Regions from separate parts of the Homo sapiens genome. Here all the other regions are linked to region 2. The links are contacts of gene promoters, found by promoter capture Hi-C in human tissues and cell types (Jung and others, 2019). All regions are on one chromosome and are shown on one strand. Each heading gives the region's core, a stretch centred on a gene start or on the middle of the fragment in contact. The rest is flanking DNA. Distances are from core to core; before and after follow the strand shown.

Region 1 (7,104 bases), core at 4,230-6,729, 220 kb before region 2:
TCAGGAAAATTTCCAACCTATGGGGAAAATTCCCAACCCACTGGCCCAGATGGTTGACTGTGGCCTCAGGTGGAGTCCCAGGAGGTCTAACAGGGCTGTGGGAGCTATGAGGGGGGCTCCACGGGTCTGTCCCTTCTTTGTGCACAAAGACACAGCACAGTCGTTCTTAAGCAGGCAAGGTCCAGAGAGAGACAGCCATGGCAGACCCACCCTTAGGACCTGGAGAAGGACCTGCTGGCCTTACCACCACACTCCCAAGGCAGGGTAAGTGTCTCTGGCAAGTGCTGAGAAATCAGAAACCTCTAACCAAGAACACACCAAGTAGGTCACAGAGAAGCACAAAATTGCTCAGGATGCCAAGTGGCCATTGACTGAGGTGAGATCCAAGACAGACCACAGCCTGGTTAGGGGCCTCAGTGAAGAAAAGCAATGCTGAAGGGATGGTGAACATATCAGCACCAGCCCCTTGCAAGACCCAAGGCAGGTGAAGCTGCACAGAGGTTTTGGTCATTGTGTGGGTAAGGGAGGATAAGGACGGAAGGACTAAGGCTGTGAGCATGGGTGGGAGAGAGGCCAGATTCTTGTGACAGTGGGGAGGCAGAGCTGGCAGGGCTTGGTCCATGGAGCAGGTGCAGAGGTTAAAGAGGAGGAGGTGAGGATGACCCCGGGCTGCTGGCTTGCATCTCTGGTGGTGGATGGTGGTACAGTCTCTATGGTGGGAATCATGGGAGAGGCATTATGGCCGCCTATCCACACCTTCCCTAGAATAGCTGCAGGCCCTCTGGGGACAGCAGCATTGATAGGGAGAGCTATGAGAAAGGAGTTAGAGAGACTTCATCACCCCTGACTGCTGTCAGGAGCAGCCTGAGCTGGGGATGAGGTAGGACCAGGACTAGGACCAGGACATCCCCCAGCTTTCTTTCAGGCCCATGGGACCCATCAGACCCTATGGAGATGAGAGTGGTCCTGGCTAAGGAGGGGGCAGTGGGGCAGGACATGGAGACAGCAGGAAATTGAGAGAGGTGTGATGGGGGGAACACCGGCCATCAAGAGACAGAAGCTCCAGGGTCCAGGATAGCCAGAACCAAGCAGCTAATGAGAGGCCTAGGCCAGAATCCAGACGTTTCATCTAGTCAGCGTGTGAACGAAACTCTTCTGTTTGGGCAGAATCAGCACTTCCCGTGGCCTGGCCCAGGGACGGCCAAGAGGAACTGTCAGGAACATTTATGCTCCTGGACAGAGACAGTTTTCCCCTCCCATTCGTGCACATTCTGCTTAATAAGGAAATGTGGGCTGGGAGGTCTCTTGGGGACAGGAGTCCTCCAGGCCAGGCCAACTCAGAAGTCCACTGGGGCTCACAGTCGCTCAGTGTCAGTGTGCCCCACCTGACCAGCAGTGAGCTTGTGCCTGGAGGTCTCTGGGCAGAGCAGCCAGCTAGGGTTCTCCTAGTCTTGTGGTGACACCCTGGTGCACCCCTTTCCCCGAGCCAGTGAGGCAAACTGTCGCCAGTGAGCCACCAGATCTAGAGCTTGGAGAGTTGGCTTCGTGGTGCCTAGAAGACCAGATGGGTGCCACATGAGGAGGTCAGTTGTCTTGCTCAGGGCTGCCCTTCCCTGCATATTGGAAAGTGTGGCCTTTGGTGGCCAAAGTAGTCTTCCTAGTCATGCTGGGGTCCCACGGGGACTCCTGTGGAGTCCTGGCCCAAGGGAAGTCAGAACAAGGTGCCACAGAGGCCATGGCAACATCATGCTCTCCTCTCTTGTCCCATCCTGGGCCAGTGGTGGTTTGCACTCCGCACACCCCTGTGCCACCATCAGCTACAAATGGCTCAGCCCAAGAGACCAGAGGGCTCAGGTGGCTCCCCATGTGCAAGAGGCAGGGCCTTGGCTCGAACATCTCCTAACGTGACACAGCTGGGAAACACATTCATCTATCAAGACTGAGGGCACTCTAAGGAGACACACCAAGCTACGCCCAAGGCAGCATGGTAAGGGTCACATGGGTGACCCTGGGCCAGGGAGAGTGGGCCACAGGACTGAGGGAGGAGCAGAAGCAGCATCTGCTCCTGGCCCAGGCTGGTCTAATTCTGCCAGGGCACCTTCACCTTCTGAGCCTCTTGGGCTGGACTCCAGGCTTCGAGGGAACACTGAACCTTACACTGGGCCTCCTGCTCCCTCCTGCCTAGCACTGCACAGTGCTCAGTGCCCTTCCCTGGAGCAGGGGCTGCGGAGAGAATGGCCACAACCCCAGGTCTGTCTCAAACCTTCCTGTGGGAAAGAGAAGCATCTCTGAGCATCCCCAGTAGCAGCTCTAAGGAGAGCCCAGCCCCAGCCTGGGTAAAACATGTGGACCAAAGGCTGTGACTTTGACAAGTAGACGTCAACACTTATGACCTCAGAAGAGACAATCAAGGTTGAATACCACCTTGCTGGGCTGGAGCCTGGACAGTGGGACATGCCCTGCCCCATTGTGAGAAAGCCTCCCACCCCACCCTGGATGTGGGACGCAACCCTCTGCATCATGGCCATTCGATCCCCACCCCTCTGAAGGTCACAGGTCCATGGCAGTGTGGGACCTCAGGTTCTCCTATCTGAGCAGGGGAGGTTGGTGTCTTTCATCAGGGCCATGCCCATGGTAGCTGGAAATGGGGAGGCCAGCTCAGGGACTCTGGGATCAGCCTTAGGGCACTAGTCTGAGTCAGTAGGCACCATTACCCCCAACTCTGAGTGAAAGTTAGTTCTGAGTAGAACTGGGGCCTGAGGTAGGGACAGGAAAGGGAATGCAGCCCCTCTGCAGCATTAGTTGTACAGGAGCAGCCCCATGGCTGCTGCAGACCCAGAACTCTTTCTGGTTCCCATGACACTCACTACCCAGGCCCGGCCTCTCATCAAGGTTCAAGGGAGCATGCTTGGTCCAGCTCTTACCTCCACCAGGTGGGGTGTTGGGTTGAAGCCACACAGGTTGCACACCTGGAGCCTGCAGGTGGTGCATGTGTTATAGTTGGCTGGGCTCTTGCTGCCCACGTTGAGCTCGGCTTGGCACAGTGGGCAGATGGCCCTTTCCTTCGGCATGGTCTTTGGCTTGGCAGCAGCCTTCGATGCTGCCTGATGTTCTGCTCTGCCATGCTTTGGACTGGTTGTTCCCCCAGTTTTCGGCAGGGCTCCAGGTCCAGATCCAGGACCCATTCTAGCCCCAGGCTCAGTTTTGGCTCCAGGTGCTGGCCCAGGCCCGGGCCCTGAGCCCAAGGGTTTTGGGCCAGCCTCCTTGCTGGCATCATTGAAGACGATCTTAGGTGTCCCCTTGCTGGGGGCAGGCTGGCCCTGGGTGTCAGCCTCGGGCTGCACAGACATGAGGGTGCTCGCCTGGGTTAGCAGTGACGCGCCAAGGCCGAAGAGCTTACCAGTGAGGCCCTCCTGGGTCTGCTCAGTGGCACCAAGCCCAGCGGGCACTGCGGTGGCACTTTTGGCCGGGGCCTCTCCTGCAGGTGGCCTGGGCTCAGCTGTGGAAGGCTTGGTGGGTTGAGGGGGCTGAGGAGACACCCTCCCCACCTCTGGAGGGGCAGCTGCTTGGGCAGGCCCCGGCACTGAGGTGGCCCTGGCTGTCTCAGCCTGGCGGGACCCAGGCTGTGGTCCTCCTGGGCCCCGAGATCTCTCTTGGTCTGGCTTCCCCAGGGGCTGTTTGGCCGGGGAGTGGGCAGGAGACAGGGCTGGGGAGTGCAGCTGCTGCTGGCTCTTGGAGCGAGGTGCAGTGGTCATGTCCATTCCCAGAGCCCTCTGCATCTGACAGTTCAGACAGAGCCACTCCTTCACCTGAGGAGAAAAGCAAAATAGTCAGCAGGGTGGCCAGGATTGGCAGTACTCATGGCCCAGGTCAGTGCAGGCCCCACAGCAGCCAAGGCCACTCCTAGCACAGGCAGGAGCACCAAGCCCTGCTCAGGCATTTCTGGGCTGCCAGGTGGCAGGGCTGAAGGACAGATGGCACTCCCCTGCCCTCTAGGAGTTGCCAGGCATGTGAGGCAGTGGAGGCAGTCCCATCCCCCACCCCACCCCAACCACCAACTCACTGCCTGCCAGACCCTCCTGCTTGAGAGTCCTCCCCGCCACCCCCTGGCAGTGCCTCAGATCTGTGCACCCCAACCTCCCGCTCGGATGAACCCAGTAGCCTTCCCCTGCTTCCCACTTCAGGCCATTTGCACATAGCAGCCAGACTGATCTTTTAAAACCTAACCCAAGAGGAAAGGCATGGCCCTAGAGCAGTGCTTATATGCAATGGGTATTCAGTAAAAACTCACATAATGAATAAATAAGTGAAGAGTAATACGTGGGAGAAGGAGGCATAGAGAATAAAAAGAAACCATGATTCCTATCCTGAAGAAGCTTAGAGTCTAGCTGAAGAAACAAGATACTACAGAATGAAAAATCTTGAGAACAAAATAAGCGAGGGTAAAGTAATGCAATGTAAGTGACTGATGTTAAGTAGAATTTTTTAAAGCCTTTTTTTTTCCCTTAAGGAAGATAGCTTTTTAAAGAAGTGGGATAATTCATGCCTCCAGAGCAAACGAGACATGTGCCGCTATCCATGTGATAAACACATAGTTTCCCTCTGCCATTAGCCCTGTGCAGGGATGGGCACGTGACCTGGCAAACAGAGTCGGTTAGAGCCCTCCACGTTATCTGGTAATGAACAACAGGAGAGAGGGTCTTTATTCGTTTTCCTTTGGATTACTAATCAGAAGGATGTAGCTTTGCAGCAGCAGTAGTCTTCTTTCCCAACATACAGAGAGATGCTAAGAATGATGTCCATAGATGGTAGGAGTCAACGAAAGGAGAAAGGAGTAGATCTGATGACTTCATTCCATTCCCTGGATCTGGCTATGCCCCAAGTCTACCCTTGGACTTCCAGTTACATGACCCAATAATTTTTCTCCAAAAACCCACATGTAAATCAGAGCATCTCACCAATAGGATCAAACACTCTAAGTGGATTTCCACCACACCTTGGGAACTCTTCAGCACAACTCTGTGACCCAACCCAGCCCCACCCCAGCCTCCCCCTCTCTCTGGTCTCTTTTCCTGCCATCTCCCCTTGGCTGTTTCACTGCAGACACTCTAGGCTGTCTGCTCTGCCAAGTGGTCCCCTGAGCTCATTTCTGTACCAGGGCCTTTGTACTCCTTATTCCCTCTGCCCCCTGGCCCAGCTTGTTGTACAGATTTCAGATGAGGTAACACTTTCCCACCAGGACCTCCTCTGGCCACACAATCTAAAATGCTCTCCTTTGGCCAGGTGCGGTGGCTCACACCTGTAATCCAGGCACTTTGGGAGGCAGAGGCAGGAGGATCATTTGAGGTCAGGAGTTCGAGACCTGCCTGACCAACATGGTGAAACCCCATCTCTACTGAAAATAGTAAGAATTGGCCAGGTGTGGTGGCGAACGCCTGTAATCTCAGCTACTTGGGAGGCTGAGGCAGGAGAATTGCTTGAACCCAGGAGGCGGAGGTTGCAGTAAGCCAAGACTGTGCCGCTGCACTCCAGCCTGGGCAACAGAGTGAGACTCCATCTCAAAATAATTAAATAAATAAATAAAAATAAAACACCCTCCGGGTACTCTGTGTCAAATCACCCAGCTTATTTTCTCCATAGTGCTTATTCTTTCCCAAAGTGTCTACTGATTTGTTGTTTACAAGGTGTCTTCTGTGCCCCAAAGCAGCCCATGAGCTCTCGTTGATAGGGTGTTCTCAGGGCTGCACACAACATGTGGTACAGAGCAGGGCTCATCCCAGAGGGGCTTGCTTCATTCATCCTGGCAATTTGGTCATGCAGGTCATAGCTCAACAAGGTGGAAGCCCCGAGATTTGGTGCCTCAATGAAGAGTCTCCTCCTCATCAACCAGAGCTGAGGCTGGAGGCCAAGGTTGTTCTCTGTCTGTGGTTGCAGCCAGAGGTTCTAAATGCACCCTATTGGCCACCCAGTCATCACCAGGGGAAGGTGCCGTCTCATCTCTGGGGCAGAAGGCCCCTTTTATTTACCCACACGTGGCTCCAGCCCTGCTCTCTGCCTTGAGGCCCCAGGGCTACTGCTACAGGTTGACTTGCCAGTTGGGGGACCTGGGCTCAGGTGCCTTATCCCAGCAACCCAAGGGCAGCAGCCAAGAAGAGGGAGAACACTGCACTTTGGCAAGCACCCCCTTGTGCCAAGCACCACATAGGGCATGTTCACAGGCATTCTCTCATTTTGTCCTCACAGGAGAGAAAACCAAGATCTGAGATGTTTTAGCAATGTGTTCTCAATGGTTCCCTGGCTAGGAAGTGTTGCTGCTGGCAAGATCAGCCCTGACAGCTCTGCGTAGCTCCTAAACCACAGCCTGGACAGCCTGGAGCCTGGTGCCTTCTGTAGTCCTGCCTCTTCCAAAGGCCAAGTCAGGCTCTAGAAGTCAGCACTGCAAACCCTGGCAGAGCCCCCCAAAGGCCAATCCCAGTTCTAGAAACTCTAAGAACAGTGATGCCGAGGCAGTGAGGTGAGAAGCCATCCCACTAGCTGGGAACAATTAACCCACCCAAATGCTTTTTAAGAAGCAAGGCAGGCCGTGCACCGTGGCTCACGCCTGTAATCCCAGCACTTTGAGAGGCAGAGGCGGGCGGATCATGAGGTCAGGAGATCGAGACCATCCTGGCTAACATGGTGAAACCCCGTCTCTACTAAAAATAGAAAAAATTAGCCGGGTGTGGTGGCACATGCCTGTAGTCCCAGCTACTTGGGAGGCTGAGACAGGAGAATCGCTTGAACCTGGGAGGCAGAGGTTGTAGTGAGCCGAGATCATGCCACTGCACTCCAGCCTGGGCAACAGAGCGAGACTCTGTCTCAAAAAAAAAAAAAAAAAGAAAAAGAAAGAAAGAAGCAAGGCAGCTTTGTCTATGTTTGGGTAGAGAAAGCCAGAGAGAAAACAATTTCAGTCCCTGAACCCAGTCTAAAGACCTCTTTAGAAAGGTCATTCTTGGGAGGGAGGGGCTTATTCCCATCAAAGTGAGAGTTCCCCAGAGCAGGCCATTTCTACTCATCCAGAGAGGGACCCTGGAAGGGGATTACTCCTCAGAGGGGAAGCTCAGC
Region 2 (7,071 bases), core at 4,370-6,869:
CCCACCATCACGCCCGGCTAAATTTTTGTATTTTTAGTAGAAACGGGGTTTCACCATGTGGGACAGGCTGGTCTCGAACTTGTGACGTCAGGTGATCCACCCACGGCATGAGCCACCGTGCCCAGCCCTGTCTCTCTTGTCTCAGGAGCTTTGTGCTGTGGTGTGTGGTTCTCCCCCAAGCTGTTCCTTACCATCAAATGGGAAACTTAATTAAAGAGCCCAACCTTGGAAATCCTGACTTAGTAGACTAAGGTGAAGCCAGGACAATTTATTTGGTAACACATTTTCTTGGGTAATTCTGATGAGTATCCAATGACAAGATCCACTGCAGTAGTCAAGCTGAATCACTGGCTGTTCCAGTGGCACACCAGGTTCTCTCACCCTTTGGTAATTATTTGTATATGCTACTTTTACATTATCTACATTTCTTTTTTTTTTTTTTTTTTTCTGAGAGGTAGCCTCGTTTTGTCACCCAGGCTGGAGTACAGTGGCTTGATCTTGGCTCACTGCAACCTCCACCTCCTGGGTTCAAGCAATTCTCCTGCCTCAGCCTCCCGAGTAGCTGGGATTACAGGCATGCGCCACCACGCTCAGCTAATATTTTTGTATTTTTAGTAGAGATTGGGTTTCACTATGTTGGTCAGGCTGGTCTCGAACTCCTGAACTTAAATGATCCACCCGCCCCAGCCTCCCAAAGTGCTGGCATTACAGACAGATGTAAGCCACTGCACCCAGCCTACGTTTTCTACATCTCTTTTTTTTTTTTTTTGAGACCGTGTCTTGCTCTGTCGCGCCCAGGCTGGAGTGGAATGGCGCGATCTCAGCTCACTGCAAGCTCCGCCTCCTGGGTTCACGCCATTCTCCTGCCTCAGCCTCCCGAGTAGCTGGGACTACAGGTGCCCGCCACCAAGCCCGGCTAATTTTTTGTATTTTTAGTAGAGACGGGGTTTCACTGTGTTAGCCAGGATGGTCTCAATCTCCTGACCTTGTGATCCGCCCGCCTCGGCCTCCGAAAGTGCTGGGATTACAGGCTTGAGCCACCGTGCCCGGCCACGTTTTCTACATTTCTTAGTCCACTTGGTGAACTCTTCCTCCTTCAGGCCTCATATGTACATTTTCTGCCTCTTCCAGGGTTAGAGCGCTGCTCTCTAGCAGCATCTTGGACGTGTGGCAAGATCTGCAGTCGTGGTTTGTTTCCAGGACCTACTCATTTAGACTGTGAGCACCTTTAGGAAGGCAGAATTGTCTTTGGGCCCTAGTGATACTTGTTGAAATTGTTAGTTTAGTAGAAGAGTACATTGAAAGGGGAAGAGGCAGGTGGATCACCTAAGGTCAGGAATTTGAGAGCATCCTGGCCAACATGGTGAAATTCTGTCTCTACTAAAAGTACAAAACAATTAGCTGGGCGTGGTGGCACGTACCTGTAGTCCCGGCTACTAGGGAGGCTGAGGCAGGAGAATCGCTTGAACCTGGGAGGTGGAGGTTGCAGTGAGCTGAGATCACGCTACTGCACTCCAGCCTGGGCAAAAGAGCAAGATTTCCTCTCAAAAAAAAAAAAAAAAGAAAAGGTGGGGAGAAGGAAGAGGTGGCACCTTTGATCTTTGAGCTTTTCAGGCCCCTGGGCCTGGGTCTGACTTGTTGTAATGGGTTGTATGTGTTCTAGTTGCAGGAAATCACGTTTAAGAATTACTACACAGCTTTTTTGAGCATCCGTGTCCGTCAGTACACCTCAGCACACACACCTGCCAAGTGGGTGACCTGCCTGCGGGACTACTGCCTAATGCCTGACCCACACAGTGAGGAGGGAGCCCAGGAGTATGTATCGCTGTTCAAGCATCAGGTCAGCTGGGCCTCAGGATGGCCAGGGCAGCCCAGATGAGGACTTACCAGAGGTGGGGGGATTGGATCAATATACCAAGAGGGAAGAGGGGGCCAGTCTGGCCTGAACTGTGACTTCCAGGGAAGTGCCTTGGAGGGACTACTGTTCCTTCCTTCCCAAGGCCTGTGGGGTGGGCAGCATTCTGGCTCATTGCTGGTTGGGAGGCTTCTGGGCAGTGAGCTGGATCCTTGCTGGGTCCTTGTGTGTGTGTGTCAGATGCTGTGTGACATGGCTAGAATATCGGAGCTACGCCTGATTCTGCGGCAGCCATCACCACTGTGGCTGTCTTTCACAGTGGAGGAGCTGCAGATCTATCAGCAGGGACCAAAGGTAAGTGACTAGCTCAGCTGCTGGCTGGCCCTTTCCCCAGAAAGCTTCTATGACTGGGAAAGCTAGGTGGTGGGGTGGGTAATGGGTGAAGATTGTGAATGGGGCCTTCATGGAGGTTAGCTGGGTGTGAATGCTGGAAGCTCACAATGAGAGGTGAGGCCATGTCCCCATATCCCCTGACCTTTGGGGCCACCTGCTACTTTCAGAGCTGGAGCCTTTAGGTGCTGGGAGACACTTTTGAGCTTGTGTTTCTGAGGACTCCGTCTGCACAGCAGGAGAACTTAGGTAGTCTGACTGCCTCTTTAGGTCTCTGTGGGCTCCCTAAACAGGGTTTTCCCAGTGTCTGAGGCCCAGCGGCCCTTCTCTCTGCTCCTAGGACCTTGGAATCTGGTCCCAGAGCTGTCCACTTTGTCTCACTCAGGGCAGTACATCTTTGCTTTGCAGAGCCCCTCCGTGACCTTTCCCAAGTGGCTCTCCCACCCAGTGCCCTGTGAGCAACCTGCACTCCTCCGTGAGGTAAGCCCTCACCCTAGGTAAGAACCATGTGTGAATGGCTCTAGTGTCCAACACAGGCCAGGTAGACCCCTTCCTGTAAAATTCTGGGGCTGGGCCCAGGGCCCTTGGGTGTTATCTTCCTCCTGGGTATTCTGTGGGATTTGAGGCATCTCTGTTGTGGGGCTACATCAGGCCCTAACCTCATGTTTCATAAGCCATCTGAGAATGTTGTTGGTCTCAGCTGGAGGGCCCCTAGCCCAGGTTGGCCTCTCTGGAGCCTGAAGGGCACTGCTGGGGAGAGACCCATGGCCACTGACCCCTCCTTCTGGAGCAGGGTCTCCCAGACCCCAGCAGGGTATCCTCCGAGGTGCAGCAGATGTGGGCACTGACAGAGATGATCCGGGCCAGTCACACCTCCGCAAGGATCGGCCGCTTTGATGTAAGTAATCGCTTCCTTCTGCTTGGCTTGCTTTGCCCTGAGCAGATCAGACCTGATGGTCTTTTGTATTTCAGGTGGATGGCTGTTATGACCTGAACTTGCTCTCCTACACTTGAATGGTTGCTCCTAGCCAAGATGTTGGCCTTTCTGTGCCCACCCAGACTTGGTTTGGGCCACCAGAGGCTGAAGTGTATTTCCTGTGCATTCCAAGTGTTGCCTGCATGCCTGTTCTGTCTGGGCCACATTCACAGATTCAGGATTCTCAGGGGCTTACCGTGTTACTTCAGCATGAGCTCCTGGCATGGGGGTGCTCTGTCTTCGCCTGGCTGCAACTCAATTCTTCCTTCTACCCAAAAACACTCCAGTCAGTTGTACTTACTGAGAATCCCTGAGTGCCCTCTGCCCCTTCTGGCAACATGCACATTCCTGTCTTCTGCCTGCTCCCTCATGTCAGTGCAGTTGGGCTGGGCTGACCTACTAAAACCTGCTCCATGTATGGACCTGGAAGGCCATTGCTGCCATGGCACTTGGGACACTTGAGGAAGAAACAGAAACCTTATTTCTTCCTGTGTGTCCCCTAGTGGTTTTCTTTCCATTTGTGTTATGCCACAGAGAGAAATTTCCTGTCTGAACTCTTCTGCTGCCTGCCTAGGAAGGAAACCTGAAGATTTGGGCAGCCTGAGTCTCTTGGTTTCTGAGCTGGCTCCTGAATATATGTTCAAGTGGGTGTGCCCATAGGGCCTGGGCACGTGTCTCTAGCAAAACCAGGGCCTGAGCATAAGAACTGGGACCCTTCTAGGCAGGGTGCAGTGGCTCACGCCTGTAATCCCAGCACTTTGGGAGGCCCAGGCAGGCGGATCACCTGAGGTCAGGAGTTCAAGACCAGCCTGACCAACCTGGAGAAACCCCGTCTCTACTAAAAATACAAAAAATTAGCTGGGCGTGGTGGTAGGCACCTGTAATCCCAGCTACTTGGGAGGCTGAGGCAGGAGAATCTCTTGAACCCGGGAAGTGGAGGTTGCGGACCTGAGATCATGCCATTGCACTCCAGCCTGGGCAAGAAGAGCGAAACTCCATCTTAAACAAACAAACAAAAAAAAAAGAACTGGGACCCTTCTGCCATCTGACATAGCCCAAAGCACATCTCTATCCTTTCTCCCAGTTGCCCCTCTCCTTTTTTGTTGTTTTTTTTGAGGTTGAGTTTTGCTCTTGTTGCCCAGGCTGGAGTGCAATAGTGCAATCTTGGCTAACTGCAACCTCCGCCTCCCAGGTTCAAGCAATTCTCCTGCCTCAGTCTCCCGAGTAGCTGGGATTACAGTCATGCATCACCATGCCTGGCTAATTTTGTATTTGTAGTAGAGATGGGGTTTCTCCATGTTGGTCAGGCTGGTCTCAAACACCTGACCTCAGGTGATCTGCCTGCCTTGGCCTTCCAAAGTGCTGGGATTACAGGCATGAGCCACCGCGCCCGCCCTGCCCCTTTCCAAGAGATATGCTCAGCATAATGAGAGATCAACCGTGGTGGGGAGTGGGTCCAAGTAAGGGTTCTCATTGTTGCCTTTTAAGAGGCCTAAGTCCTGCATTAACTCAGTCCAACCATTAAGTGATGCAGGCTGCTCTTCCCTCATGTGAGAAAAACCTGTTTCCCTCTGGTTCTTCCTGGCTTTGCACCTGGTGGCTATTACAAAGCAGTACTGCAGTATGTCTTGGACCTGGAAAGTTGGACATGTGTGTGGCTCAACAGTTTTCTCGGGGGAGTTCAGTGACCTTTTGGTGGCCACCCTCTGTTCTCACCTGTGAGTTCTTGCAGGTGGCGACTTCATCTGCAAGGTCACTTACATAGCCCCACTCAGCTGCTTCGGAAAGCGTGACGAAGCAGTAGTCCTCAGTGTGTGTGTAAGTGAAGAGGACCTTGTGGTAGCAGGGACCATGCTTCATTCGTGGCTGTGTCCCCATCTGAGGGCCTGGTATGCAGTAAGATCAATAAATACTTGTGGAATGCATGACTGCTGGCTGCCTGTGTCTGCCTGGTGGGAGAGCTGTGGAACTAGGGGTCCACATGAGGACAGACTACTGTGGTGCTGCCTACCTGCCAGGCTGGCCCACCTTCCCCACCCCCACTTGACCTTACTCTCTTGAGGTCCTAAAGGTATGATTCAGACCTTTCAGCCCTTTCCAGAACTTTGACCCTCTGGAGACAGGGCGGTTCTGCAGGGGGCGGTCTAGCCCCTAGCTTTGTTCTGGGCAGCCCAATCAGCTCTGGATTGCCCGAGCTGCCCTGAAGAGTCAGCCGAAAGAGCTGGAGGCTTCTTCCCTGTGGTTGCGGGTTCCTGCATTCTCTGCTCTAAATCCCAGCCTGCCCTTGGGGCTGCCCACGCCCCCTTCAGATCCTTTGCTCCGGAGAGAGACCTGTCCGAGCAGAGGCCTGGACTACATCTCCCGGCGTGCCTGGCAGTGTGGTGGCCTCTGTGCGCCGTCTGCACTCGTTGCAGGCGACGATGCAGAGGGCTGTAAGTGTGGTGGCCCGTCTGGGCTTTCGCCTGCAGGCATTCCCCCCGGCCTTGTGTCGTCCACTTAGTTGCGCACAGGTGGGATAGAGGGTGCTGATCTTGGAGGGTGGGGGAGGGAAGCGGCTGGGGGCTAGGGCCCTGGTGGCACTAAGCCCAGCCGCCCACAGGAGGTGCTCCGCAGGACACCGCTCTATGACTTCCACCTGGCCCACGGCGGGAAAATGGTGGCGTTTGCGGGTTGGAGTCTGCCAGTGCAGTACCGGGACAGTCACACTGACTCGCACCTGCACACACGCCAGCACTGCTCGCTCTTTGACGTGTCTCATATGCTGCAGGTGAGCCAGGGGAGCACACTGGCCATCTGATCAGGCCTTCCTCCCTGTTTACAGTGGTCCACTCCTTGGCTTTGTTTGCTGTGAACTGGATTCCAAGGACAGCCTTCTCAGAAGAGCTAGAGGTCATGGGGGTGTCATGGATAGGTCAATGGCCCCAAGGAAATGAGCTCAGAGGGTCTCATCATCTCATCCTTCTAGCTTGCCCCCATTAAATGGTGTGCCTTAATGTCCCGGGTTTTCCAGGGCTGACACCCACTCTCATGTATTGGGCTGGATGTTGGTTTGAAAAGGGGTTATTTCAGGAAGGTGCTAGGTCCTGTCCAGTTCCCTGGCAGTCCCCCCACACAGAGTGACTGGGGGAGGTCAGGAAATCAGAAGGTGGTCCTTTGCCACGTGTAGAACCAAAAGACTGGTTAGTCACTTTGGGTGGGCTGGACTGCACTGTGGATGGCAGGGAGGATGCATCCTTGCTTAGTAGCCTTTTGGATTGTAGCTGTTGCAATGGCCTGAGGCTTTCAATCTCTTCCCCAGACCAAGATACTTGGTAGTGACCGGGTGAAGCTGATGGAGAGTCTAGTGGTTGGAGACATTGCAGAGCTAAGACCAAACCAGGTGGGCCCTTTTATTTCTGCTCTATGAGTTTTCTTAGTCATGAGCCAGCAAATGGGCTGAGTCCCTACCTCAGGCTTAGGGGCACAGAGATGAGTCAAACACAGCTTCTCAGGGCTTGCAGTCTTGGACAGAATCCCTGAGTCATTTCCAGAGACACAGACATTTGTAGGGAGGGGAATATCCCAGTCTTACTACATCAGGCTAGGAGGCCAGAAACCAAGGTTAATATGCTGCTCTCTGGCCATCCCTTCTGCTTAACCCCTCTCTATTCAACATGTGGTCCCTGGCCAGGCGACGTGACTCAAACACCTGTAATCCTGGCACTTGGGGAGGCCAAGGCGGGTGGATCACCTGAGGTCAGGAGTTCGAGACCAGCCTGGCCAACATGGCAAAACCTCGTTTCTACTAAAAACACAAAAATTAGCCGGGCGTGGTGGCGCGTGCTTGTAGTCCCAGCTACTCGGGAGGCTG
Region 3 (6,420 bases), core at 3,688-6,187, 240 kb after region 2:
ACCTCTGCCTCCCGGGTTCAAGCAAATCTCCCACCTCAGCCTCCTGAGTAGCTGGGATTACAGGTACCCACCACCGTGTCCAGCTAATTTTTTTTATTTTTAGTAGAGACAGGGTTTCACCATATTTCCCTGGTTGGTCTCAACCTCCTGATCTCGGGTGATCCACCTGCCTTGGCTTCCCAAAGTGTCAGGATTACAGGTGTGAGCCACCCTGCTTGGTCTATGTAATTTTTTTTTTTCTTTAAGACAGAGTCTTGCTCTGTCACCTAGGCTGGAGTGCAGTGTCGTGATCTCGGCTCACCACAACCTCTGCCTCCCGGGTTCAAGTGACTCTCCTGCCTCAGCCTCCTGAGTAGCTGGGATTACAGGCATGCACCACCACACCCGGCTAATTTTGTATTTTTAGAAGAGATGGGGTTTCTCCATGTTGGTCAGGCTGGTCTTGAACTCCCGACCTCAGGTGATCCACCCACCTCGGCCCCCCAAAGTTACAGGCCTGAGCCACTGCGCCTGGCCCCCATTTCTAAATCAATCAATCTTCCATTTCTAAAATTTTGTCACTTAAAAATGTTATAGGTCGGGCGCAGTGGCTCACGCCTGTAATCCCAGCACTTGGGAGGCCGAGGTGGGTGGATTGCTTAAGGCCAGGAGTTTAAGACCAGCCTGGCCAACATAGTGAAACCCCATCTCTACTAAAAATACAAAAAATTTGCTGAGGTTGGTGGCTCACGCCTGTAATCATAGCTACTCGGGAGGCTGAGGCAGGAGAAGTGCTTGAATCTGGGAGGCAGAGGTTGTGGTGTGCTGAGATCACGCCACTGCACTCCGGCCTAGGTAAGAGAGCAAGACTCCATCTCAAAAAAAAAAAAAAAAAAAATTACATAGGCCAGGTGCGGTGGGTCATGCCTGTAATCCCAACACTTTGGGAAGCCAAGGCAGTGGACTGCTCAAGGTCAGGAGTTCAAGACCAACCAGGGCAATATGGTGAAACCCTATCTCTGGTAAAAATACAAAAATTAGCCAGTGTGGTGGCACATGCCTGTAATCCCAGCTACTTGGGAGGCGGAGGCATAAGAACCTCTTGAACCTGGGAGGTGGAGGTTGCAGCAAGCCAAAATCACACCACTGCACTCTAGCCTGTGCTACACGTGAGACTCTGTCTCAAAAAAATAAATTAAATTAAATAAAATTGAAATGTTATATAAAGCTGGGCACAGTGGCTCATGCCTCTAATCCCAGCACTTTGGGAGGCCAAGGCAAGAGGATTGCTTGAGCCCAAGAGTTCAAGATCAGCCTGTGCAACATAATGAGACCTCATCTCTTAAAAAAAGTTAAACAATTAGCCAGGCATGATGGCATGCACCTGTGGTACCAGCTACTCCAGAGGCTGAGGTAGGAGGATTGCTTAAGCCCAGGAGGTCAAGGCTGAAGTGAGCCATGATTGTGTCACCGCACTCCAGCCTGGCAACAGAGTGAGACCTTGTCTCAAAAACAGTTATATAAATAGAATAATACAATATGCACCCTTTGGAGACTGGCTATTTTTGCAGCATAATTTCCTAGAGATTCATCCAAATTATTGTGTGTATCAATAGTTCATTTATTTTCATTTACTGAGTAGTATTTCCTTGGTACCAATGTACCAGTTTGTTTAATCATTCATCTGTTAAAGGATATCTGACCTGATTCCAGTTTTTGGCTCATACAAATAAAGCTGTTAAGAATATTTGTATATAAACTTTTGGTTGAACATATGTTTTTGTCTCTCTGGGATAAATGCCCAGGAATACAATTGCTGGGTCATGTGGTAGTTGCATGTTTAGTGTTTTTGTTGTTTTGTTTTGTTTTCGAGACAGAGTCTCACTCTGTCGGCCAGGCTGGAGTGCAGTGGCACGATCTCAGCTCACTGCAACCTCCGCCTCCCGGGCTCAAGCAATCTCATTACAGGTGTGTGCCACCATGCCCAGCTAATTTTTGTATTTTTAGTAGAGACAGGGTTTCACCATATTGGCCAGGCTGGTCTTGAACTCCTGACCTCAGGTTATCCACCCACCTCAGCCTACCAAAGTGCTGGGATTACAGGATGAGCCACCGCGCCCGGCTGCATGTTTAGTTTTTAAAAGAAACTGCCAAACTGTTTTTGAGAGTGGCTTTACCACTTTATATTCCTACCAGCAATGCATGAATGATCTGGTTTCTCTGCATTCTCACCAATACCTGATGTTGTCTCCATTTTCAATTGGAGCCATTCTGATAGATGTGTAGTGATATCTTATTGTGGTTTTAATTTGCATTTCCCTGATGTTTAATGATGAATATCTTTTTGAGAGGTGACAGCGTGCTGGCAGCCCTCACAGCCCTTGCTTGCTCTCGGCACCTCCTCTGCCTGGACTCCCACTTTGGGGCACTTGAGGAGCCCTTCAGCCCGCCGCTGCGCTGTGGGAGCCCCTTCCTGGGCTTGCCGAGGCCCGAGACGGCTCCCTCAGCTCGCGGGGAGGTATGGAGGGAGAGGCCAGAGGGGGAACTGGGGCTGCGCGCTGTACTTGCCGGCCAGCGTGAGTTCCGGGTGGGCATGGGCTCAGCGGGCTGCACTCGGAGTGGCTGGCCCCCCCGCCCCGGGCAGTGAGGGGCTTAGCACCTGGGCCAGCAGCTGCTGTGCTGAATTTCTCGCCAGGCCTTAGCTGCCTTCCCGCGGGGCAGGGCTCGGGACCTGCAGCCTGCCATGCCTGAACCTCCCCCTTCACTCCCTGGGCTCCTGTGCAGCCCGAGCCTCCCCAACAAGCGCCGCCCCCTGCTCCATGGCATCCAGTCCCATTGACCACCCAAGGGCTGAGAAGTGTGGGCACACGGCGCGGGACTGGCAGGCAGCTCCACCTGCAGCCCCAGTGCGGGATCCACTGGGTGAAGCCAGCTGGGCTCCTGAGTCTGGTGGGGACTTGGAGAACCTTTATGTCTAGCTAAGGGATTGTAAATACACCAATGGGCACTCTGTATCTAGCTCAAGGTTTGTAAACACACCAATCAGCACCCTGTGTCTAGCTCAGGGTTTGTGAATGCACCAATTGACATTCTGTATCTAGCTACTCTGGTGGGGGACTTGGAGAACCTTTGTGTCCACACTCTGTATCTAGCTAATCTGGTGGGGAAGTGGAGAACCTTTGTGTCTAGCTCAGGGATTGTAAACGCACCAATCAGTGCCCTGTCAAAACAGACTACTGGGCTCTACCAATCAGCAGGATGTGGGTGGGGCCAGATAAGAGCATAAAAGCAGGCTGCCCCAGCCAGCAGTGGCAACCCGCTTTGGTCCCCTTCCACGCTGTGGAGGCTTTGTTCTTTCACTCCTTGCAATAAATCTTGCTGCTGCTCACTCTTTGGGTCCACGCTGCCTTTATGAGTTGTAACACTCACCACGAAGGTCTGCAGCTTCACTCCTGAAGCCAGTGAGACCACGAACCCACCCGGAGGAACGAACAACTCCAGACGCGCCGCCTGAAGAGCTGTAACACTCACCGCGGAGGTCTGCAGCTTCACTCCTGAGCCAGCGAGACCACGAACCCACCAGAAGGAAGAAACTGGGAACACATCCGAACGTCAGAAGGAACAAACTCCGGACATGCCGCCTTTAAGAACTGTTAACACTCACCGCGAGGGTCCGCGGCTTCAGTCTTGATGTCAGTGAGACGAAGAACCCACCCATTCCGGACACATTTTCATGTGTTATTTGTCGTCTGTAAATCTTCTTTGGTTAGATGTCTTCATGTTTGTCCATTTTCTAATTAGACTGTGATTTTACTGTTGAGTTGAGAGACTTCCTTATATATTCTAGTCCTCTGTTGGATATATGGTTTATAAATATTTTCTCCCAGTCTGTAGCTTGGTTCGCAGTGGCACGATCATGGCTCATTGCACCCTTGACCTCTTAAGCTCATGTGATCCTTCCACTTCAGCTTTCCTAGTTGCTGGGACCACAGGTATGCACCACCACGCCTGGCTAATTTGTTATTTTTTGTAGAGACAGTGTCTGGGAGCCTTTCCACACTGCCCAGGCCGGTCTTGAACTCCTGGGCTCAAGCAATCTTTCCTCCTTGGCCTCTCAAAGTCCTGGGATTACGGGTGTAAGCCACTGCACGGCCTCAGCTTGCTTTTTTTTTTTTTTTTTTCTTGGAGATAGAGTCTCTCTGTTGCCAAGGCTGGAGTGCAGTGGTGAGATCTCGGCTCACTGCAACCTCCACCACCCAAGTTCAAGCAATTCTCCTGCCTCAGCCTTTCGAGTAGCTGGGATTACAGGCGCCCACCACCACACCTAGCTAATTTTTGTATTTTCAGTAGAGACAAGGTTTCACCATGTTGGCCAGGCTGGTCTCGAATTCCTGGCTTCAAGTGATCTATCCGCCTCTGCCTCCCAAACTGCTGGGATTATAGGCATGAGCCACTGTGCCCAGCCTCAGCTTGCATTTTGAGGAATGAAAGCTTCCCACCTTCTTGGAGTTTTCATTCTGCTTGAAGACTACCATCAGACTGTCTAAGGCAGGCGGTTCTAAAAAGGGAACTCTTTTTTTTTTTTTTTTTTTTTTGAGACGGAGTCTCACTCTGTCGCCCAGGCTGGAGTGCAGTGGTGTGATCTCAGCTAACTACAAGCTCCACCTCCCGGGTTCACGCCATTCTCCTGCCTCAACCTCCCGAGTAGCTGGGACTACAGGCGCCCGCCATCACACCCAGCACATTTTTTGTATTTTTAGTAGAGACGGGGTTTCACCATGATAGCCAGGATGGTCTCGATCTCCTGACCTCGTGATCCGCCCGCCTCGGCCTCCCAAAGTGCTGGGATTACAGGCGTGAGCCACCGCACCTGGCCTAAAAAGGGAACTCTTAAACACACATACAATAAGCTCTACTCTGAAGATTCTGGTTCAGGGATGGAGCCAGCCCCTGTATTTTATCTGGGGACCTGCTGTCAGCCATTACCTATACTCCCAAGCCAGCCAAGCCTGACCTCACCAGATCTGGCCACTTCAGGTCTACAGCAGGAGAAACTGAGTGACTGGAGAGGGAATGGCTCTGCAGGCAGAAGCCAAGCACAAAGGCAAGAAGGTGTTCTTGGGACAGATTCCTGCTGAAGTCTGGAGGCCTAAGAGATGGGCTTTCTCTGCATGGGAGTGGAGCAAGGCTCTCTAGCTCCAACTGAGCCAAAGTAAATGCCCTGGGGCCAGGACCTTCTGTCCCTGTTCATTAATTTTTTTTTTTCTGTTGCCCAGGCTGGAGTGCAGTGGCTCAATCTTAGCTCACTGCAACCTCTGCCTCCCAGGTTTAAGCAATTCTCCTGCTTCAGCCTCCTGAGTAGCTGGGATTACAGCCAAACACCATCACACCCAGCTAATTTTTTTGTGTGTTTTAGTAGAGACGGGGTTTCACCATGTTGGCCAGGTTGGTCTCGAACTCCTGACCTCAAGTGATCTGTCCGCCTCGGCCTCCCAAAGTGCTGGGATTACAGGCATGAGCCACCAAGCCCGGCTAATTTTTGTATTTTTAGTAAAAACGGGGTTTCACTATGTTGGCCAGGCTGGTCTCAAACTCCTGACCTCAGGTGATCCACCCGCCTCGGCCTCCCAAAGTGCTGGGATTACAGGTGTGAGCCACCGTGCCCAGCCTGTTTATTGATTTAACAGCAACATTTATTGAGCTGTGTCAGGCATTATTCTCAGTGCTGAAGTTATAGATGTGAGCAAGACAGACCGCCTTTGCCCACAAGCAGCTTATGTTTAATGGCGGGGCATGAGATGTTCTAATCAGTGGGGGTAACATCACATAGAACAATATAGTATGTTAGCAGGTGAAAAATGCAGGGTTAGGGTGATGGAACTATTGGCCTAGTGCTCAAGGAAGGAAAAGAGGGAGGTGTGAGGGAATTATATGGCCAGGAGAAGGAACAGGTGGTGCAAAGCCCTAAGTGGGAGCACCTGGTGTGTCTGAGGAGCAGTGAGGAAATCAGTGTGGCTGGAGGTAACAGAAGGACCAATATCATGTGGGTCTCACAGACCACTATGATGACTTTGGCTATCACAAATAGGAGGAACTGTTGTGGATTTTCAGCAAATGAGATGTGATCTCATTTATGTACTAACAGAATTATGCTGGCTGCTAAGCAGACAGCAGACTGGAGGGGTAAGTTTGAAAGCAGGGACACCAGGCAGGAAGCTCTTGCAATAATTCAGGCAAGAGAGTAATGTGGCTTGGATCGGGGAAAAGAGTGGGCATGCTGAGATGTGGTCTGGTCCTGGGCACATTTTGACCACAGTATCAACAGGATACTTGCATATTCAATGTGGGGTATGAGAGAAGAGAATCAAGGGGACTCAAGGTGTTTGACAGGATCTGGCTGCCGTGGTCTGAGCTGGGGGAGGCTATAGGTGGAGTGTGTCT
Region 4 (6,846 bases), core at 1,771-4,270, 240 kb before region 2:
CAGCCCTTGCTCAGATGGCTGCATTCAGCCCATACCTGATCTTTGGGATGAGGCAGGTATTCCATGGGTGGGGTGAGGCCAAGTCCCAGAAAGGCAAGGGTGTTAAGTCCAACACAAAGGTTGGCAGCTTCCTGTCCCATCCATAGCTACCAGAGGTGAGCGAGGAGCCCTCTCTGAAGGGGTGTGTAGATCTTATAGAAAAGCATGAGAAATGCGGACCCCTGAGAAATGCATGGTGCAAACCAGAGCACTCTGGACGAAGGTCAGGCCTTGAAGGGTCAGGCAGGTACTGCCTGCCGCACTCCTGGCTCAATGGTAAAAAAGCTGATGAGCAGCGGGACGCTTGGGCTTTGGAGAAGGGGGTGAGCAGGGAGCATAGGTCCTGGGGACAGATGCAGAGAGGGTCACACAGGACCTTCTGTAAGATTTGCTATTGAGAAACTTCACAAGAAACTTAGCTTGAAGCCACTGTTTATATGAACAGTTCCAGATGACCACTGTCAACTGTTCTCACCACAAGTGCCAAAGGCCCAGCTCTTCCTGAGCATCCATTGACCCCCTAGCTCCAGCCCAGATCTCCTGGCTCACAGTCCTTTGAGCCTCCTAGCCACAGAGGAGAGGCATGAAACAGGTGCAGTCAAGAGCTGGGGTCCCTCGGGCACAGCCTGGCTCTGCTCTTGCCTCTGCCTCTCTGGCTGTGGATGCCGCCCAGCTCTGCCCTTGCGTGGTGCCCTCTGGGAAAGGGCTGTCAGATGCCTCTGGCTCAGGGTTGGGGTAGGAAGGGAAAATGACAGACAGACAGATATCCTACAGCAAACCTTCAGAATGTCCATACACACACATCCTGTGCAGGCTCCTACCATTGCGTCTGCTCTGGGGATTCCTTTTTACCTGCTGTCCTGGACAGAGAAAACTGCAGGGTATGTGGGGGCCTTTTACTGCCTGCCCTGCAGCCTGGCACGCTCAGGCAACAATTCTGGCAGGTCCTCACTAGCTTGTGCAGAAGTCAGCTAGAAGTGCTCCTGAAGGAGAGGTTCTGAGGCAAAAAGAACTCCAAGCAAGAGGGTCAAGCATTTAAAATGGATGAAATCGTGCAAAGAGGCTGCGAGCTGTGCATGCTCCACTGCAGGACAGGCGGTGACTCACCTGGCAGCAGCGAGTCCTGCCACAGGTCAAACATGCCACAGACTGAGAATTTCACACACACAATGGGAGCAGGGGTGGGGTGGGGAGGGGTGGGGGTTTTATGAGTGTATCTATCCAGTTTCTCAATTGCATGTTTGCAATTAACTCCTTATACATAACATGGAATTTATTAAATATTAACAGTTGTCATTGAGGGTTTATATTTCATTGCATAGAACGTTAGAGATGAGACTTGTGGCTGTGCCCCAGATGAAAGGAGGCCCCCAAGGGAAGAGCCCTGGGGAGGAATGCTGCCCAGTCCACCGGATGGATAGACAGTGCCACATTCCCCCGCACAGGGCTCTGGGCCTTTCCCTTGGCTGGCAGAAGTCCTGGCCCCTCTGCTCTGAGTACACCCACTGGTGATGGCTTAAGAACGACTGGAATTGCACAGTAAACAGAGGCGGGCTGGGAGGCCTCCCCAGACCTCGCCCTGGGGTTGTGCTCTTGGTGGCCTGCTGCCCCCTATTGCTTCTAAGTCAACATTCTCCCTGTGCTGAGCAGGGGCAGAGCAGAGAGGAAACCAAACCATCAGTCACAAGGTGGTGGTGGAGGGGGAGAGGCAAGGGAGTGAGCCAAGAGAAGAGAGAAAGGGGGAGAGAGAAACAAAAGAAAAATGTTTATGAGGTATACACGTAAATCAAACTGGAATGATTAAGGCTGTTCTTGAAATCAAAAGAAATCCCCAGGTGTACAGACGAGGAGCCGGCTGGTTGAGACAATGGCGGTGCCGCTGGGATGCTCACGATGGCTAGGGGGATGGCTTTGAGATGGTGGCAGTGTGCTAGCACGCTGCCACCCACGGGCTGGGAGAAGCCTCAGCCGGCGCCCACGCTGCTTTTCGGTGCTATGGCCTCTTATTTCAGCGATGAGACAGTGTTAGGTCCTAATGTTTGTAAAGTTCTCCCAACCCCTGGCCACATGGAGGTCTGCTCCGATGTCACCCAGAGGGCATGTGACGGGCAGGGCCCTGTGCCACAGAGGGATCCGGGCCAGCTGGAATGTGAAGGAAACGGAGCCCAGGGCCCCCAGCCCTCAGTCAAAGCCCCTCTCCAAGGCTGTGGAAAAACTTCTGGCATCTCGGAGGGAGGGCAGTGTGTGCCCAAACTCTGTGTATAACGCACGGGAAGCCTGGCCGGCCAGGCCGCAAAAAGGCGGCTGTGGGAAGTACGGCAAGACACCATGGTGGCAGGGTTTCTGGAGAGGGTTCTCCCTCCCAACAAGGGCTGTGCCTTGAAGGTGGTGCCCTGCAGAGAGCAGCATCTCTGGAAAGACAATCAAAGGTCCCCTGGCCAGTGGTCCGACTTGTCCAGCAGATGCTTCACCCAGGCAGCTGCTGTGAGAAAACATCACGTCCTCAACTGAGGCCTGCCTGCCACGTCCCACCTGGTGAGTCTTTGGGCCAAGGGTTTGCCAGATTGTAGATGCTTGAAAGAGAAAAGGAGGGAGGGAGGAAGGAAAGAAGAAAAGAAAGGATTCTGTCAAGAATTGTAGATAGCTGCTTCTCACCCTCACATTCCTCTCAGCCATCTGCCTGTGCTAGCGGCCACCTCCTCACCCACGGGGTGCCATGCCACTCAGGCTTGGGGAGATGGGTGCTTGGGCAGGTTGGAGGTCACAGAGAGGACAGCAAGAAAGAAGAATCAGGTCAGCCAGGAAGGGACACTTCTTTTAATGTAACAAAAGTTCCTTTTTTTTTTTTTTTTTTGGCTTAAGAGTGATGGAGAAGGGATTTGGTTTGAAATGGCAAACCTCTCCAAGCCCATCTCTGAAATTGCCGTAAAGAATTTCAGGAGAGGGATACTCACGGCAGCACTGTCCACTTGACCCAATCATTAGCCGAATGCTAGAACTCAAGGGAGATTTCTTTAACTATAAAGTCAGTGGTCTCAGTGGCCCAACCACACCATGTGGCAGGACGCAGAACAAAGCTGTGTCTGTGCTTCCTTTCCCTGCTCAGGAGCCATACCCTGGCCCCAAACCCAAGGTAGGTACTGTCATGAATCCAGGCCATGGGCTGTCCCTCCTTCCCCCACTTTCAGCACCACTTGTGATTTCACATCTGTTCCAGGGCAACTCCAAGGAAACATCAGCTGAGCGGGAAGCCGCAGGAAGCCCGCTGTGGGAGGGTGAAGGCAGGAAGAACGCTAAGGGCTGCACTATGGCTACTGTAATTAGAATAAATTCCAGGCTCCTTACTTGGCCTGCACAACCCACCCCAGCTGGCTCCCACCCCCTTGGACTTTACCCCTGACCACCTCTCCCCTCCACTGTGGCCCTGGCTATACTGGCCTTTGCCCTGTCCCTGGTCCCATCCCAGCATCCGATCATCCGTCAGTGCTGTTCCCTCCCCTTTTTTCATCCCACCGCAGTCGTCCTCCTCCCTCAAGCTTCCCTCACATATCTTCTGCTCTGAGCACTTTGTCTAGAGCAGACCCCACTGCTTCCATAGCTCTGCTTCTCTGGCTTTATAACACTCATCACTTTCAGAAAGTACCTTTTTAATTGAATTTTATTTTTAAACTTATTTATTCTCTATCTCCTTTAATGGATTGTCAGCTTCAGAGGGCAGGGACTTGGTTTTGTTCTCTGCCATATCCCCAGATCCTGGAAGAGTGCCTGGCACATACCTGGGGCTTGACAAACATTTGTTGAATAAATGGACGGAAGCCTGGGCCTTTCCAGGGCCCCACTGCTTTTCCAGAGAAAGGTAGCCTGTGAGGTATCACACCTAGCTCCTTCCCTCCCACAACCAGTGCTGGCCCGGGCCCAGCATCTGCCAGCCCCAGGGCTCCCTTGAAGTGACCTGCTCACTGACCGCCAGGCCCCGCCATGGATAACACATACATGCTTGTGCACCGTGAGAAGCACCCTGAAGGGGCAAGGAGGGAGAAGAGGAGGGTCCGAGGGCTATGGGATGATGGTCAGTGGTCCTGGCTGTGCACAGAGCTGTACCAACAGCCAGGTGATTCTCCTCCCACCCAGGATGATGCACTTCCTCCTCCTCCCACAGAGGCAGGGCCAAGGCCAGGGCCAGGGCCAGGGCCAGGACAGGCTCCAGGAAGTGGTGTCCCAACCTGCCTTGGCCACTGCAGCCCAGACAGGGTGAGGGCTCCCATCCTGAGGCCCTTCTGCCCTCTCCCTGAGCTGACTTAGTCTGGGGCTGAGACTCCCTTTCCTCTATGTCCCTTCCTGTCTGCCTCTCTACTCCTTCCACTCTTCTATCCTGTGGGCCACAAGCTCAGCCTGTGAAGCCAGGAGTGTTTTGACTTCATTCCCAGAGCTGCAGATGTGACTCTGTGGGGTTTGGGGACTCTAATCTCTTCCAAGTGGCTGGAGCAAAGGCACCAGCAGCAGACATCAGGGAAGAAGCATGTTCCCCTACAGGTGCCACAGACTACCAGGTCCTTCAGGATGACTTTGAACTCAGTGCCCAGCACATAGACTTCAAGTTGTGAGGTGCAGTTAGCCGTGCTGGGCTCTTCTCCAAGGGTGCCACCTGACTTGTCTGGCACCATCTCAGGCAGCTCTGTGGCCCCTGCCTCTGCGGGGTAGAGGGCTGCTGGGCCCATCGCAGCTGAAGGAAACCCAACAGGCCCTTCCCAGTTCACACTTGTCAGAACTGGCTAGCTGTCATCAGCCAGGCCTTGGCCCTTCACCCCTCCTCCGGCCCATCTCACCCTGATCCTGACACTCACTGTTATACGCAGAGTCCAGAGCTGCGCCCAGGCCTCTGACTCCAGAGATTTTTCCACAGCAATGATACCTCTCTTCATTTCTTCAAGAGCCTGTGGAGCATTTAGAGGAGGGCTGGAGAGGAGTTGCATCCCTGGAGGCCTACCTACAACCCAGTGCCAGCCCAGTGCTGTGAGAGCCCTGCAGGGGATGGCAGATGGTTTGAAAGCCAGGGCACTGGCCCTGGCTTTGGCCCCTCCTTTGCTGGGGACCCCTACTGTGTTGGCCCCATGGTAGGGGCTCTGTGCACAGTGTCCCTCCTTTTTCTCCTCCCACATTCAGAGAAGGGAACATTGCAGCTCTGGGTACTGAACCAGCCGAAGACTGGACTCCTCCCAGAGGACCCCTTCGGACTTAGAGCCCCACCCCCACCCCCAGTGCCTCGGGCCTTTCCCAGAAGAGGCAAGGTACAGGCTGCTTGTACTCACCATGCTGGGCATGGTCACCAGAATGAGGAAAATTTTTTGCCAAAAGCAGAGACAGCTGTGACAAAGAAAGAGGAGAGAGCCATCAGGAAATTGGGCCAGACCCCTCCCAGTCAGGGCCACTTGGCATAGTGAAGGCAAGCTCAGCCCAAGGGGCAGAGATTGCCCGGAGAACAACTGGGCATCAGCAGGTGGGCTCTCTGGCTGGCCTCTGCCTGGGTGACTGAGTCTGGAATCATCTCACAGACCCAGCCTGTACCAGAGTAGCCACCCACCACAGACCAGTTGCAGGCAGTGCATACCTTCCGTCAGTTTGCCAGCTTGCTCGGCTGCCCCGCCAGGGAGGATCTTGGAGAACACGCTCTCCCCATCGGCACCTGGCTGGCCGGCGGGAGCCCCTGGGGTTCCTCCAGGCCTGGCTCCAGCCTTCACACCTAGGAGGAAAGAAATCGCCATAATGAGCTATGCACGGCCTGGCTCTTTAGGGTCTAAGAGGGCAAGTACCCACGAGAGAATCTGAACACAGGTACCCTATAAGGTGGGAAGGTGAGAAGGAGGCTAGGGAAATAAAGAGAAGAAGGTAAGAACAGGAAGACAAGGGGTGGGAGAAGGCAGAAAAAAGGAGGTTGAGGAAGGGAAAGAAGAAGAAAGGGAAAAAAAGGCAGAGAAGAGCAGGAAAGGGGAAGGAAGGAGGGAGCAAGAAGCCATGGTCCCCACCCTGTGCTCACCAGTGCCTTCCTGCTTCTCTGCCCAAAGCTGCTTGGGCCCTAAAGCCCCTGTGCTGGTGACCTCATTGGCTTATTCTAACCCCAGGCTTGTTTTCTGCTGGGGAGGTCTACAGCCCCTGGGGCACCTTCTCAGGGATTAGTGAGGGCATGCAGTGTGGGGGAGCTCAGGGCACAGGTGGTATAGAGAGAGAACAGCCTGGGTGCTCTGGGCCACAGCCAAGGGTGTCAAAGGATAGGCTCACCTGCAGGTCCAGGTCCTGGTGCTGGCTGGGCCTGAGGAGCCCTCCCCTGTTGCGGTGCTTTGGCTGTCCCTTTAGAGCCATTTGTCTGTTCTGCCCGTGGCTGCAACACAGAACCTATAGCTAAGATTCTGCCCATGCCCAGCCTGGAACCAAGGGGATGTCCAAGCTTCATTCATAGCATCTTCCCTGGTTACAACCCATGCATGGGAGCTCTGCTTACCGGTCCTGCTGGTTGAGGACCTGTGGCTGTGCTGGGGCCTGGCTGAGGCTTCCCTGCAGGCTGGCTGGCAGCAGGGGCTGAGCCCCGGGTGGTTGGCTGGCTCTGTTGCTGCAGCCGAGCCTGTGTCAGAGCCTGCTGTGGGGGCTGCAGCCCAAGACCTTGCTGCTGCTGCTGTGTCTGTGGCTGGCGTGATGCTGCCCCAGAGGGTATTTGCCTGGATGATGGTGACTGTGACTGCTGTGGTCCTGGAGCTGCCTGCCGACCTTGCAGCTGCGGCTGCGCCTGGGGTTCTGCCTTTGACTGCAGTGCAG

The links. Contacts are between HindIII fragments. The study calls those that stand out against the background at their distance.
Region 1: a contact is called between a fragment that was not itself captured here and the fragment with the promoter of AMT in region 2, in 1 of the 25 tissues and cell types used here (IMR-90 fibroblasts).
Region 3: a fragment that was not itself captured here is called in contact with the fragment with the promoter of AMT in region 2 in 1 of the 25 tissues and cell types used here (lymphoblastoid cells).
Region 4: a fragment that was not itself captured here is called in contact with the fragment with the promoter of AMT in region 2 in 1 of the 25 tissues and cell types used here (liver).

Annotation. Positions count from the first base shown.
Region 1 is chr3:49,638,973-49,646,076 of GRCh38, reverse strand. BSN (bassoon presynaptic cytomatrix protein) reads right to left here. Exons shown (of 12, transcript NM_003458.4): 3 at 2,925-3,809. Among named protein-coding and RNA genes, the nearest start is that of APEH, 32 kb to the left of the region's middle. RefSeq lists a silencer at 892-1,075 and an enhancer at 6,886-7,104. The HindIII fragment of the contact is 7,249 bases long and covers 1,855-7,104 here.
Region 2 is chr3:49,421,021-49,428,091 of GRCh38, reverse strand. AMT (aminomethyltransferase) reads left to right here and starts at 5,619. Exons shown (of 9, transcript NM_000481.4): 1 at 5,619-5,731; 2 at 5,821-5,988; 3 at 6,520-6,600. The coding sequence starts at 5,642. It overlaps NICN1 (nicolin 1, tubulin polyglutamylase complex subunit), which reads left to right. Exons shown (of 6, transcript NM_032316.3): 2 at 1,664-1,840; 3 at 2,096-2,209; 4 at 2,654-2,725; 5 at 3,039-3,143; 6 at 3,218-5,759. The coding sequence ends at 3,259. RefSeq lists enhancers at 5,238-5,991, 5,992-6,744. The HindIII fragment of the contact is 4,289 bases long and covers 4,822-7,071 here.
Region 3 is chr3:49,179,084-49,185,503 of GRCh38, reverse strand. The region is part of intron 2 of CIMIP7 (ciliary microtubule inner protein 7); the gene reads left to right. Among named protein-coding and RNA genes, the nearest start is that of CIMIP7, 9.6 kb to the left of the region's middle. The HindIII fragment of the contact is 5,587 bases long and covers 2,144-6,420 here.
Region 4 is chr3:49,663,356-49,670,201 of GRCh38, reverse strand. BSN (bassoon presynaptic cytomatrix protein) reads right to left here. Exons shown (of 12, transcript NM_003458.4): 7 at 6,536-6,846; 8 at 6,316-6,415; 9 at 5,648-5,779; 10 at 5,349-5,403; 11 at 4,884-4,973; 12 at 1-2,612. The coding sequence ends at 5,363. Among named protein-coding and RNA genes, the nearest start is that of APEH, 7.6 kb to the left of the region's middle. RefSeq lists an enhancer at 3,312-3,606 and a silencer at 3,312-3,606. The HindIII fragment of the contact is 4,016 bases long and covers 1,013-5,028 here.